Linked DNA regions of Homo sapiens: region 2 is linked to region 1. The links are contacts of gene promoters, found by promoter capture Hi-C in human tissues and cell types (Jung and others, 2019). All regions are on one chromosome and are shown on one strand. The core of a region is centred on a gene start or on the middle of the fragment in contact, and the rest is flanking DNA. Distances in the headings are between cores, read along the strand shown.

Region 1 (6,475 bases), core at 2,565-5,064:
CACTCTGGGTGACAGAGCAAGACTCCATCTAAAAAAAAAAAAAAGAAAAAAAAAAGAAAAAAGATAAATTCTAATTCTAATTTACTAAGTTGTTTCACTTATACTTTCTACTACCCAAATTTAATGGCATTCTGATACCCTGAGCAAAACACTTCCATCTCAACCCTAAATTTCTTCATGGGAAAATAAAAAAAGCATACACATAGAGAAACCGAGGAACAAAATGTCACTTATCTGAAGCTACAAGGCAGGAAGAACTGGGAGGTCACAAAATATTCCTAATTACACAGTCTTTTTGTCTATAGCTATGAATACAAGGTGATCCTTCTTCCCCTACAATGGCAAAGTATCTGAGCAGAAATGTGTTTCTTTGTGTCTTCTGACTCTGATTTTGTATTATTTTGTCAATCAAAATCTTATTACAAAGCAGCTTTCAGTTTTACTGATGCCCATGGCTTGGTAACATTTTTAAACACCAGGAAAAGAAAAACTGAGCCACAAACTCACACAATCTCCTCTTTAAGAACAAAGCTGGAAATGCACAACCTAGAAGACTATGCATATAGAGGATTAAAACAATTTGGAAATCAGAGAAACTGTTGTGGCTGGGTACAGTGTCTCATGCCTGTAATCCCAGCACTTTGGGACACTAAGGCAGGTGGACTGCTTGAGCCCAGGAGTTTGAGACCAGCCTGGGTAACATGGTGAAACTGTGTCTCTACAAAAACCACAACAATTAGCTGGGGGTGGTGGTGCGCCACTGCACTCCAGCCTCAGGGACAGAGCAAGACCCTGTCTCAAAAATAAAAATTAAACTGGCTTTTCTTTTTTTGAGACAGAGTTTCGCTCCCGTTGCCCAGACTGGAGTACAACGGCGCGACCTTGGCTCACTGCAACCTCCGCCTCTCGGGTTCAAGCAATTCTCCCGTCTCAGCATCCCGAGTACTGGGATTACAGGTGCCTGCCACCATGCCCAGCTAATTTTTGTATTTTTAGTGAAGACGGGGTTTCATCATATTGGTCAGGGTGGTCTCGAACTCCTGACATCAGGTGATCCGCCCACCTTGGCTTCCCAAAGTGCTGGGATTACAGGCGTGAGCCACCACGCCCGGCCGGCTTTTTTTTTGTTTTTTTTGAGATAGGGCTTCACTCTGATGCCCAGACTGAAGCACAGTGGAGAAATCATGGCTCACTGCAGTTTCCGCCTCCTGCACTCAAGCGATCCTCCCGAATAGCTGCCTGACCTTTTTTTTTTTTTTTTCCAATAGATGGGGATCTCACCATATTGTTCAGGCTGATCTTGAACTCCTAGGCTCAAGTGATCCTGCTGCCTTGGCCTCCCAAAGTGCTGGAATTACAGGAATGAGTCACAGCACCCAGCCGGCTGTGTTTTGTTTTTTGTTTTTTACCCCGACAGGGTCTCAGTCAGTCGTTAGCTGGAGTGAAGTGGCGTAACACAGCTCACTGCAGCCTTGATCTCCTGGGCTCAAGTGATCCTCCCATTTCTTCCTTCCAGAGTAACTGGTACTGCAGGCCCACGCCACCACACATGGCTAATTTTTAAATTTCGTAGAGACGAGGTCTTGCCATGTTGCTCAGGCTCCAGCTGTTGTATTCTTTCCAATTGAAACGAAGAATTATCTGCTCTTATGGACACATAAAATAAGAACGAACTAAGAGCTACCCAGTGGTAAGACGCAAACTTCTGAGTGACTTTGGGTTTCCTGCGCCTGTTATCCCAGCACTTTGGGAGGCCGAGGCGGGTGGATCACTTGAGGTCGGGAGTTCAAGACCTGCCTGGCCAACGTGGCGAAACCCCGTCTCTACTAAAAAAAAAAAATACAAAATTAGCTGGGTGTGGTGGCACATGCCTATAAGCTTGAACCGGGAGGCAGAGGTTGTAGTGAGTAGAGATCGCGCCACTGCACTCCAGCCTGGGCGACAGACTGAGACTCCGTCACACACACAAAAAAAAAAAAAAAAAAAGAAAGAAAGACCAAGCAGAATGCAAATAAAAGGTCTGAAGAACAAGTTTTGTTAATTTGCCACAACAGACTGTACTCCAGGGGAAGCTTTGTTGTCCATTAAAGTGAGTTCTCTGGGAAGACGAGGAGTAACCGACTTGCACGATTTTCCTGCCTTTTCTATATTCTCTACTTACTATGACAATACAGCACTAGAATTTCCAAGTGCTTATACCAGCATAGTGCAATGTATTTAATGAGAAACCACGTCCAACAACAAAGCGTTATAACTTCTCCAGCTGAGTTAGATGTTTTAGTCTGAACCAGGAAAACAGATGAAGAAAGTTGAACCAAGAATTAAAAGATTTAGAGTTTCCACTCAGACCTAAGACTCTCCACTTTGTTTCAGAGGGAGTGGGTATGGTTATTCTGAAGAAGAAGGCGGCCCTTATCCTGAATGCCCGGTAGCCTCCGTGGGCTGGTGGGTGGTTCCTCCGGTCCAGCACCTCCATAATTTATGATCAAATGCCCAAGCCAACAAACTAATCCTCCCCTTCTCCCCCACAAGGAGGCAACCTTTATGTCAGAACAATGTGCCCAGAAGAAGCCAAAGACACAAGGCACATCCAAGGCAAAGACAATCTTAATTAAGCACTTTCTCCTTCCACTTTCTCCACACCTTTACCCCCGGCCCAACCCCTTCCCATAATTTCAAGCTGTACAAAATGAGGTCCTAGGGTGGATCCGGGTGGTCTTTCCTTTCTCTACGGGTAAGCTCTACAAAGAGGCGAAAGCTCCGAGTGTTAGTTCTTGTTTGTGTATAAATTCTGAAAAGCAACGCTGGCCTGCGAGCTATGAAAAGCAGAAGCATGAGTCACCACGCAACGGGTCAATCAAACCTGTAGACCAGAAGGCACGGATCTGGCAAACGGACGGTGAGCCAGGAAAAAAACATCCCCCCAAACCTCTCCGCTGACAGGTTTATCTAGCTGGCTGACCTTGGGCAGGTCACCAGCCGCTCCGAGCACATTCATGTCTAAGATGAGATGGGGGCTGGAAAGCCTTCCAAGAAATAATCCCTTCCGAGTGGTGACGGTCTATGCAACTTTTGAATAAACACATCCTAAGAGGCAACGGAGAAGTTTCTAAAGAGTTGAAATTTTTCAACAAAAGGAGGAGGGAAAAGTGCTCGGTAAAAACACAACGGAGTAACTGGTTTTGGCCTCCGACCAGACGCGAGGGGAGAGAAGAGTGAGAAGTTAGACCCCTGTGATAAAGGGAAAAGGCAGCAGCGGAGACCCGGGCAGGAGCTGCAGCGCCCAGCCGGGGCGAGCTGGGGTGCGCAAGGCCTACCGCGGGTGGGCCCGGCAGGGCAGGGCAGGGCAGGGCGGGGCGGGGCGCCCGCCGCGCTACCCTCCTGGGAAAGGCCGTGGAGGCGCCGGCCGGCGGCTGAGGAGAAACGCCAGCTTTCGGTATGGAATATCGGGAAAGGGCTCTCAGAGCGAAAACTAGCTGCGCCGGCTGCTGGGAAGCCGACGCTGGGCCCGCAGAGAAGGCGCGCGCTCGCGAGGCCCCCCCCAAGTGGATGGGGCGGCGTGGGGGGAGGGGCCGCAAGGGTGGGGGAGGGGAGGTCGCGGGCCTCTCACAATAACACCTCGCAGCCCCTTCCGACCCCCGCCTCTAAGCCACCGGTTCCCTGCGACCCTGGATGCACTCACTGAAGTAGAGGGTCCGTGCGGGCCCCAAGCGGCTGAGGCGTCGGCGGGTGGCGCGTCGGTCGCTCGCTCGGTCCCGTCGGTCCCGCTCCGGCGCGTCCCTCCTCCGGCCCCAGCACCAGCAGCAGCTCCTCCACTTCCGGTTCCCCTGCCACTCAGCCAAATGGCTTCCGGAAGTCCCGCCCCCATCCTGCCACGCCTCAGCGTGGTTCCTCTCTCCCCGCCTTCGCTCTCCCGGGCGCTGGCGGCGTGCGCCCAGGTGTCCCGCCACACCCCGTTGGGTACCCTGCTTTGTTCTCGCGGTTACCCCCATTTTGTGTGGCGTCTGAGGGACATGGGCTTCTCTCTTTACTCCAGCTGCATCTCTCAATCCTGCGTTCGTGCCACCGCAGTGTGGAGCTGGCATTCGGGACGATGTGGCGTGAAGTCACACTGACGCCATTCCCTTCACACTCAGCCAACTTGGCTTCCTCTTCCACCCATGGAATAAACCAGACTGCTGAAAGTGGGAGGGAAATAGCGGACCAAGGTTAAGGAGGCAGTACCTGACATTTATTAGTGGAATTTCTGTTTCTATGATGAATGTGGAGATTTTGGGTGACCGCCTGTAAAGGTGATACATAGGGGGATGACGAACCCCAGGCTTTTCCTTAAAAGATACATCCAGTTTAGGGGAAGACATACATATACAAAGTCAATATTGAAAAGATTATATGCTAAATAAATGCAGGATCTATAAAAGTAGAGAGGAGGGGCAAGAGATGTGCTCAAGCTTATAGCAGCGCAACGGTTGCTGGAGCAGTGCCCTGAACTGGCCCTTTAAGGATCTCAGCTCTATGCTGGTGAATAGGCAGAGCCTTCCAGGGCTCTTAAACTGATGCGGGGGTGGGGGTTGATTTTGCTGACAAAACCTGTTAAGAATACTGTAAAATCCTGGGAGCCTAAAATGTCAAGATATGTCAAGTAATTTTTCTTTTTTTTTTTTTTTTTTATTCAAGTTCTAGGGTACATGTGCACAACGTGCAGGTTTGTTACATAGGTATACGTGTGCCATGTTGGTTTGCTGCACCCATCAACTCGTCATTTACATTCCGTATTTCTCCTAATGCTATCCCTCCCCCAGCCCCGCAGTCCCCGACAGGCCCCCGTGTGTGATGTTCCCCGCCCTTTGTCCAAGTGTTCTCAGTGTTCAATTCCCACCTATGAGAACATGCGGTGTTTGGTTTTCTGTCCTTGTGATAGTTTGCTGAGAATGATGGTTTCCAGTTTCGTCCATGTCCCTGCAAAGGATATGAACTCATCCTTTTTACAGCTGCATAGTATTTCGTGGTGTATATGTGCCACATTTTCTTAATCCAGTCTATCATTGATGGACATTTGGGTTGGTTCCAAGTCTTTGCTATTGTGAATAGTGCCACAATAAACATACGTGTGCATGTATCTTTATAGCAGCATGATTTATAATCCTTTGGGTATATACCCAGTAATGGGATGGCTGGGTCAAATGGTATTTCTAGTTCTAGATCCTTGAGGAATCGCCACACTGTCTTTCACAATGGTTGAATTAATTTACACTCCCTCCAACAGTGTAAAAGTGTTCCTCTTTCTCCACATCCTCTCCAGCATCTGTTGTTTCCTGACTTTTTAATGATCGCCATTCTAACTGGCATGAGATGGTATCTCATTGTGGTTTTGATTTGCATTTCTCTGATGACCAGTGATGATGAGCATTTTTTCATGTGTCTGTTGGTTGCATAAATGTCTTCTTTTGAGAAGTGTCTGTTCATATCCTTTGCCCACTTTTTGATGGGGTTGTTTGTTTTTTTTCTTGTAAATTTGTTTAAGTTCTTTGTAGATTCTGGATATTAGCCCTTTGTCAGATGGGTAGATTGCAAAAATTTTCTCCCATTCTGTAGGTTGCCTGTTCGCTCTGATGGTAGTTTCTTTTGCCATGCAGAAGCTCTTTAGTTTAATTATATCCCATTTGTCTATTCTGGCTTTTGTTGCCATTGCTTGTGGTGTTTTAGTCAGGAAGTCTTTGCCCATGCCTATGTCCTGAATGGTATTGCCTATGTTTTCTTCTAGGGTTTTTATGGTTTTAGGTCTAACATTTAAGTCTTTACTCCATCTTGAATTAATTTTTGTATAAGGTGTAAGGAAGGGATCCAGTTTCAGCTTTCTACATATGGCTAGCCAGTTTTCCTGGCACCATTTATTAAATAGGGAATCCTTTCCCCATTTCTTGTTTTTGTCAATTTGTCAAAGAGCAGATGGTTGTAGATGTGTGGTGTTATTTCTGAGGCCTCTGTTCTGTTCTGTTGGTCTATATATCTGTTTTGGTGCTAGTACCATGCCGTTTTGGTTACTGTAGCCTTGTAGTATAGTTTGAAGTCAGGTAGCGTGGTGCCTCCAGCTTTGTTCTTTTTGCTTAGGATTGTCTTGGCAATGCGGGCTCTTTTTTGGTTCCATATGAAGTTTAAAGTAGTTTTTTCCAATTCTGTGAAGAAAGTCTTTGGTAGCTTGATGGGGATGGCATTGAATCTATAAATTACCTTGGGCAGTATGGCCATTTTCACAATACTGATTCTTCCTATCCATGAGCATGGAATGTTCTTCCATTTGTTTGTGTCCTCTTTTATTTCACTGAGCAGTGGTTTGTAGTTCTCCTTGACGAGGTCCTTCACATCCCTTGTAAGTTGGATTCCTAGGTATTTTATTCTCTTTGTAGCAATTGTGAATGGGAGTTCACTCATGATTTGGCTCTCTGTTATTGTCTGTTATTGGTGTATAGGAGTG
Region 2 (6,475 bases), core at 1,467-3,966, 110 kb after region 1:
CTTTTGAATGTGGACCTTTCGATTTTAGTCAGCTAAAGCATTAAGTCTGTTTTCTTCCACTCCCTCAACTTCATAGTAACATGTCTGTTTATAATATGCAGTGAGAATTGTAGTGTACATTGCACCATTTATACACTGCAAACATCATACATTAGTAACAAGTCTGTCATGAACTGAGTTAATTGTAGGGTTTGTTCTGAACATTTTCTTGCCAGGCATGGTGGCTTACGCCTGTGATCCCAGCACTATGGGAGGCTGAAGTGGGAGGATCACTTAAGTGAGTTCAAGACCAGGGCAACATAGCGAGACCTCACCTCTACAAACAAACACAATTAAAAAAATATATTTTTTCATTGTTGAGCTTTATTTTCGGTGTTTGTAATATGAAGACAATAGGTATCTTTTTATTTATCAAATAAGGTTTATTAATTATGCTTTTTCTTTTAAATGACAGCCTTGAGTCAACTTTTTCTGTCTTTGTGCTAAGAATTACAGTAGTCTCAACGTAGAGCCGAGGTGATTCTGATCTAAAGATGCTCCGTGAATGTGCGATATTTCTTTTTCTTTTTTTTTTGAGATGGAGTCTCACTCCGTCGCCCAGGCTGGAATGCAGTGGCACAATCTCAGCTCCCTGCAGCCTCCGCCTCCCAGGTTCAAACAATTCTCCTGCCTCAGCCTCCCGAGTAGCTGGGATTAGAGGCACACACCACCATGCCTGGCTAATTTTTGTATTTTTAGTAGAGATGGGGTTTCACCATTTTGGCCAGGATGGTCTTGATCTCCTGACCTCAGATGATATGCCCGCCTCCGCCTCCCAAAGTGCTGGGATTACAGGCATGAGCCACTGCGCCTGGCCGCATGTGGGATATTTCGAAGAATCTTAGCTTTGATGCATCTGTGGGGAAGAAATGAGTGATTATTAACAAAGGTAAAAGGAGAGGAGAGTCATTGCAAATAAAGAATCTTGTAGCGGCCAGGTGCGGTGGCTCACACTTGTAATCCCAACACTTTGAGAGGCCGAGGAGGATCACCTGAGGTCAGGAGTTCGATACCAGCCTGGCCAACATGGTGAAACCTCGTCTCTACTGAAAATACAAAAATTAGCCAGGCGTGGTGGCGGGTGCCTGTAATCCCAGCTACTCTGGAGGCTGAGGCAGGAGAATCGCTTGAACCTGGGAGGCAGAGGCTGTGGTGAGCCGAGATTGCACCACTGCACTCCAGCCTGGGAGACAGAGCGAGACTCTGTCTCAAAAAAAAAAAAAAAGTATCTTGTAGCAGTTTATTCTAGGCCAGAGCCACAGTTTGTGTTGATTTGGCTAGAAATTATTAAAGTTGGTATTCTGTGAAATTTTGTTTGAGTGGTTCTTTGTTTGGTTGAGCGGGTTCAGATGAGGCTGAGAAAACAGGAAGATTGTGCTTGGAAGAGGGGGAGAAGGCTTCCTTAGGCCAAGGCAGGTCAGTCATTCTATAAGGAGAGTCTCTATACAGGATGTTTCTGCTTTTAAAAATATGGTCTGATATGCAAATTCACTTATCTAGTGCAAATGATTCTGGCAAAGGTTTCTACTTTCTTGATTCAGGAATAAGACAAAAGAGTTTTCCACCCCATAGTACACAACAAAAAAGAGGCATTATAAAACTTTTCAGAACTACTAAAGTGGTATGATTTTATGATTTCTTGTTGAATTCAGCATTTGAAAACAGAAGAAATGTGAAAACAGAGGAAAGGTGCTTAGCATAGGAATTAACTTGTTTCTTGGCAAGGAAACCAGGGTCAGGTGTTTGAATCACTTGGCTTTGTGGTGGTTCTGTTGGTTTTTGTGTGTGTGTTTTTCTTCTTCTGCTGGATTATCATCTCTTTTTTTCTGCCTTGGAAACTGTTGCTTTATCTAGGGCAATCACCCCACTTACACAGGAGGCAAATTCAAAGCTGGTTGCCTTATGTTGTTAAAAGCTGTCAGATTCACATCCTTTGCCATATCCTTCTTCAGGAGTCAGGACAATGAAGACAGGAGTCTAAACATGGGGCCAGAGTGAGCTGCCCCGTCCTCAGTACTAACACCTATTCCTGACAGCTTAAGTTGCTTCTCAGCCTTAGTGAAGCTTTCTCAGCTATTCTGGCTCATGATGATCATTCCCTCCTTTGAACTGAAATAGCCTAATTGTCTCTGAGTCATGTGGCAATTAGTCTTGTTTTGCTTTCTGATATCTCTTGTAGTTGACTTTTATTGTTAATGTATGCTGCTTGAAGGCAAGGGCTGTTGTGAATTTATTATATTGCTATATATTTTACAGAGACTCTTGATTTTTCCCTGGTTTACCTTGGGAAGTTTTCCTGCCTCTTAAATGGCGAGAGGATCCTTTAGAAGATTTCCTAACTCTCAGAATCTTTTAGATTTTTCATGTCATGCTGTGTTTGCTATGGCCTTGAAAAAGCAGTTTTTCCCTTTTTTGCAGCAGACACAACCAAGATTCTGGATAAAGACCAGGCAACACAATTTTCCTAGAGTAATACTTACCTTGAGTAGTTTCTTATGGGGAAAAAAGCCCCCAATATTCTTAGGCTTAATTTCTATGATCAAATATTTTAAAGATAGAAACAAATGATATATAGTAGTTAGGTATGGGGGCAGGCAAACAAGCAAAATGTTAAGATCTTGCATGACTAATTAGTACTGTATAAAACACATTTAAATTTTGTTGTACCCATTCTTACATTAGAAATGAATTGATTGATTCATATGGTATTGGTTTTCCTTTAAGGGATTTATTTCTTAATGAATCAGAGGTTTCACATTGAAAAAGAATCTGCGTATTTTTATATACTATCCCAACTTTCATCTGAGTTATTTCATGTTTTTCATTGCCCCATTGGAAACCGTATTTTGCCGAAGAGTCATTTAATATATTTTTCACACTGGCTTTGATTTGGTGACATGTAGCAGTTCTGGAAGAATTAACGATATGTTAACACAAGTTGACTGTGATAGAATAATTACAATAAATATGCCTATTTTCCTTTGGGGAGAAAAGTCTAAAATTCTGCTTTATAGAAGCTATTCTCAGCTCTAAAAGAGCATATATGTAGATCTTCATTTCTTTTCTTCTAACAATTTTAGGGGAAAATACAAACCTTAAGTTATTTCCTGAAATATTTCCCAGGATGATTACTACCTTGGATTTTAAGGCTTCTTTCTTCACAAGTTCTGACTCTTCTATAAGCACAATCAGAATGGTCAGAATGCTGACTCTCCTTTAGGTAGTCAGAATGGGTCTTCCAAACCTTTGTATGAGCCCATTAGCTGCCTCAGCTTTCCCTCAACTTTCAGGAAAACACAGGTTACATATTCTTTACGTTACTATGAGAAACTACCTACATTATTTTTTTTTAAATTTTATTTTTGGCTGGGCACATTGGCTCACACCTGCAATCCCAACATTTTGGGAGGCTGAGATGAAAGGATTGCTTGAAGCCAGGAGTTGCAAGACAAGCCTAGGTGACAAAGTGAGACCTTGACTATAAAAAAAAAAAATTAACCTTTCCGGCGGTGATGACCTACCCACACGAGAACATGCCTCTTGCAAAGGGTCTCCTTCATCCCTCTCCAGAAAAGGAGAAGAGGAAACACAAGAAGAAACGCCTGGTGCAGAGCCCCAATTCCTGCTTCATGGATGTGAAATGCCCAGGATGCTATAAAATCATCACGGTCTTTAGCCATGCACAAACGGTAGTTTTGTGTGTTGGCTGCTCCACTGTCCTCTGCCAGCCTACAGGAGGAAAAGCAAGGCTTACAGAAGGATGTTCCTTCAGGAGGAAGCAGCACTAAAAGCACTCTGAATCAAGATGAGTGGGAAACCATCTCAATAAACACATTTTGGATTAAAAAAAAAAATTAAAACAATTAGCCGGGCATGGTGGCATGCACCTGTAGTCCCAGCTACTCTGGAGGCTAAGGTGGGAGGATCGCTTGAGCCTAGGAGCTCAAGGTTACAGTGAGCTATGATCACATCACTGCATTCCAGCCTGGGTGACAATAGCCCTATAATGTAGGTAGTTACTTTTATCTGCATTTTACAAATGAAAAGAACTGACAGACATTGAGTTAAAATAACCAGTACAAAAATCACAGATGGGGGATAGCCAAAGCTTTAAAATGGAATAGCAGGAAGTTTTAATTTGCAAATAGAATCATTAATGTTTAATAGAATCATTAATAGATTTAATAGAATTAATGAATTGATAGAATCATTAATTCATACTTAGTTTGGAGTGATTGTTGAACACATTTCTCAGCTAATTTAGGTCTTCATTATATTTTAGAACATATTATCTGCATCATTAAAAAATTCCTCATTTCCTCATTGCCTATCTCTGCCTTTTATTCACTCAGTTTTAAAATAAACAGATTTTGTTTATACTGCTTCTTTTATTAATATTTATGGTAAGATATTTTATACTGCTGATAAATGGACATTAATGATATATAGCCTATTGTTTGAAAAAAGCATTTTGGATTATAGCCCAGAACTGGAAACAACCAAGAGATAAATAAATGGTGGTATATTCATACAATAAAATATTACTCAGATAAAAAAGTTCAGTTCAAAACTTTCAGTTTTATCATTGCATTATTTGCAGTTGTAAAACATGGTAACATCACAACCTTATGTTACAAAGTTATTAAAAATATTAGCAAGGTACACTGATTGCTGTAGCCATGTTACAATTAAGCTAAAGGAATTTCTTGTTAACCAAAAGCAAAAAATAAGTTTGGTTTTTTTGGATCTTAATTGACTATTTATAATAGAACTTGCCTTTGGGTAGCGAACAGATTCACAAATGAAAGAGGAGATTCTGGAACTTACTGTATAATTCCAGGTAACTCTGTAAAGTTTGAAATGTAAAGACCATGCCTTAATACAATTGATAATTGGAATCGTGCTGGCATCTTCTTAACATCTCTTGCTTGTCTGTGGAGCATGGCATGATTACTTATACATTACTACATTTAGGAAACAGCCTTTATAAGACCCACTTTTTCTGAAGTTTTTGGTGTTACTCTTTTCTTAACCACCAGTACTGATCTCATTATGTTTTGGCCGACTTACTTGAGGGCATGCTAAAAAGTGATCTAAATACTTAATTTCTCCCTTCAATTGTGCATCGTGTTTTACAAATAAACCGTATCTTTACTTTCATTTACTTGCATGTCACTGAGAAAATTTGAGATCTTTAGCATTCATGTCCTTGCCTGAAGTATAAGGATTTCACATAATTTCAGCTTTTATCATTCAAGTCTTATAGATGCTTTTCTCTTGTCTCTGTTTTCAAATAATGGTGCTAATTATATTTAAGGGGCAGTATGTTTATTCAATATAGTTATAGTGTTAGCAGTGTAGGATTTAACAAGCTTTTCCTCTGGAATGTATACTAGTTCTTCATGTTCTATGTGATAACTTATACAGTGCTATGGTATTTTTGTTGTTAGATTTAAGTTTTCTTTGAATTTTTTTTCTGTCCATAATCTTAGGCTTTCTTTTTGTGCTTACTGTTTTTTTCTCCCCCAGAATGATACATGGCAGCGATTATAAATCTGTTTTATAAAACTTAACTTCATTAAACATATGAAGAACGTGGGATTATTTTTCTTGTCATAAAAGGTGACCTCCAGTGACAAATGGCTATTACATTATTTATGTGAGATTCCTTCATTTCATATACTGTTATCAATGTGTTTGATAATGGTTGAAGAACCAGTTGGTGTTGGTTTCTAATACTAATTAATAATTTGCCTTGAGCCTGATCAATCTTCTTATATCCATTATCAGATTTTTTTCTTCAAATCTGAAAATGTTTTCTTTTCTTTTCCTTTTCTTTTTTTTTCTTTTCTTTTCTTTCTTTTTTTTTTTTTTTTAGACGGAGTCTCGCTCTTTCCCCCCAGACTGGAGTGCAGTGGCGCAATCTCTGCTCACTGCAAGCTCCGCCTCCTGGCTTCACACCATTCTCCTGCCTCAGCCTCCTGAGTAGCTGAGACTACAGGCGCCCACCACGACGCCTGGCTAATTTTTTTTTGTTTTGTATTTTTAGTAGAGACGAGGTTTCACTGAGTTAGCCAGGATGGTCTTGATCTCTTGACCTCGTGATCCACCTGCCTTGGCCTCCCAAAGTGCTGGAATTACAGGTGTGAGCCACTGCACCCAGCTATTTTTTCTATATTTTTATGTAGTTCATTGAGGGTAATAATTTTATCCTACAACAAACATGTAAGTTATTGAAGAATATTGGAGTTTTATGATAATGCTGTCATAAATATAAAAGGTAGGGTAAGAGGGATCCAAATAGAGCTCACTTATATTGTCACTGATAGGCAGTCACGCTGTGCTGATAGAATGTGGCCTGACACTTGATGGAGTGCAGCATATGTATACTTGGGCAATTTGAGCAGATATATACGGTCCCGAGTTTAAAGAAGAG

What was found. Contacts are between HindIII fragments. The study calls those that stand out against the background at their distance.
Region 2: a fragment that was not itself captured here is called in contact with the fragment with the promoter of PAFAH1B2 in region 1 in 2 of the 25 tissues and cell types used here (dorsolateral prefrontal cortex and hippocampus).

What each region holds. Positions count from the first base shown.
Region 1 is chr11:117,141,626-117,148,100 of GRCh38, reverse strand. It overlaps PAFAH1B2 (platelet activating factor acetylhydrolase 1b catalytic subunit 2), which reads right to left and starts at 3,814. Exons shown (of 6, transcript NM_002572.4): 1 at 3,683-3,814. RefSeq lists an enhancer at 2,555-2,734 and a silencer at 3,285-3,604. The HindIII fragment of the contact is 6,098 bases long and covers 1-5,735 here.
Region 2 is chr11:117,033,149-117,039,623 of GRCh38, reverse strand. All of the region lies in intron 1 of SIK3 (SIK family kinase 3), which reads left to right. It also overlaps the pseudogene RPS27P19. Among named protein-coding and RNA genes, the nearest start is that of SIK3, 62 kb to the left of the region's middle. The HindIII fragment of the contact is 4,127 bases long and covers 653-4,779 here.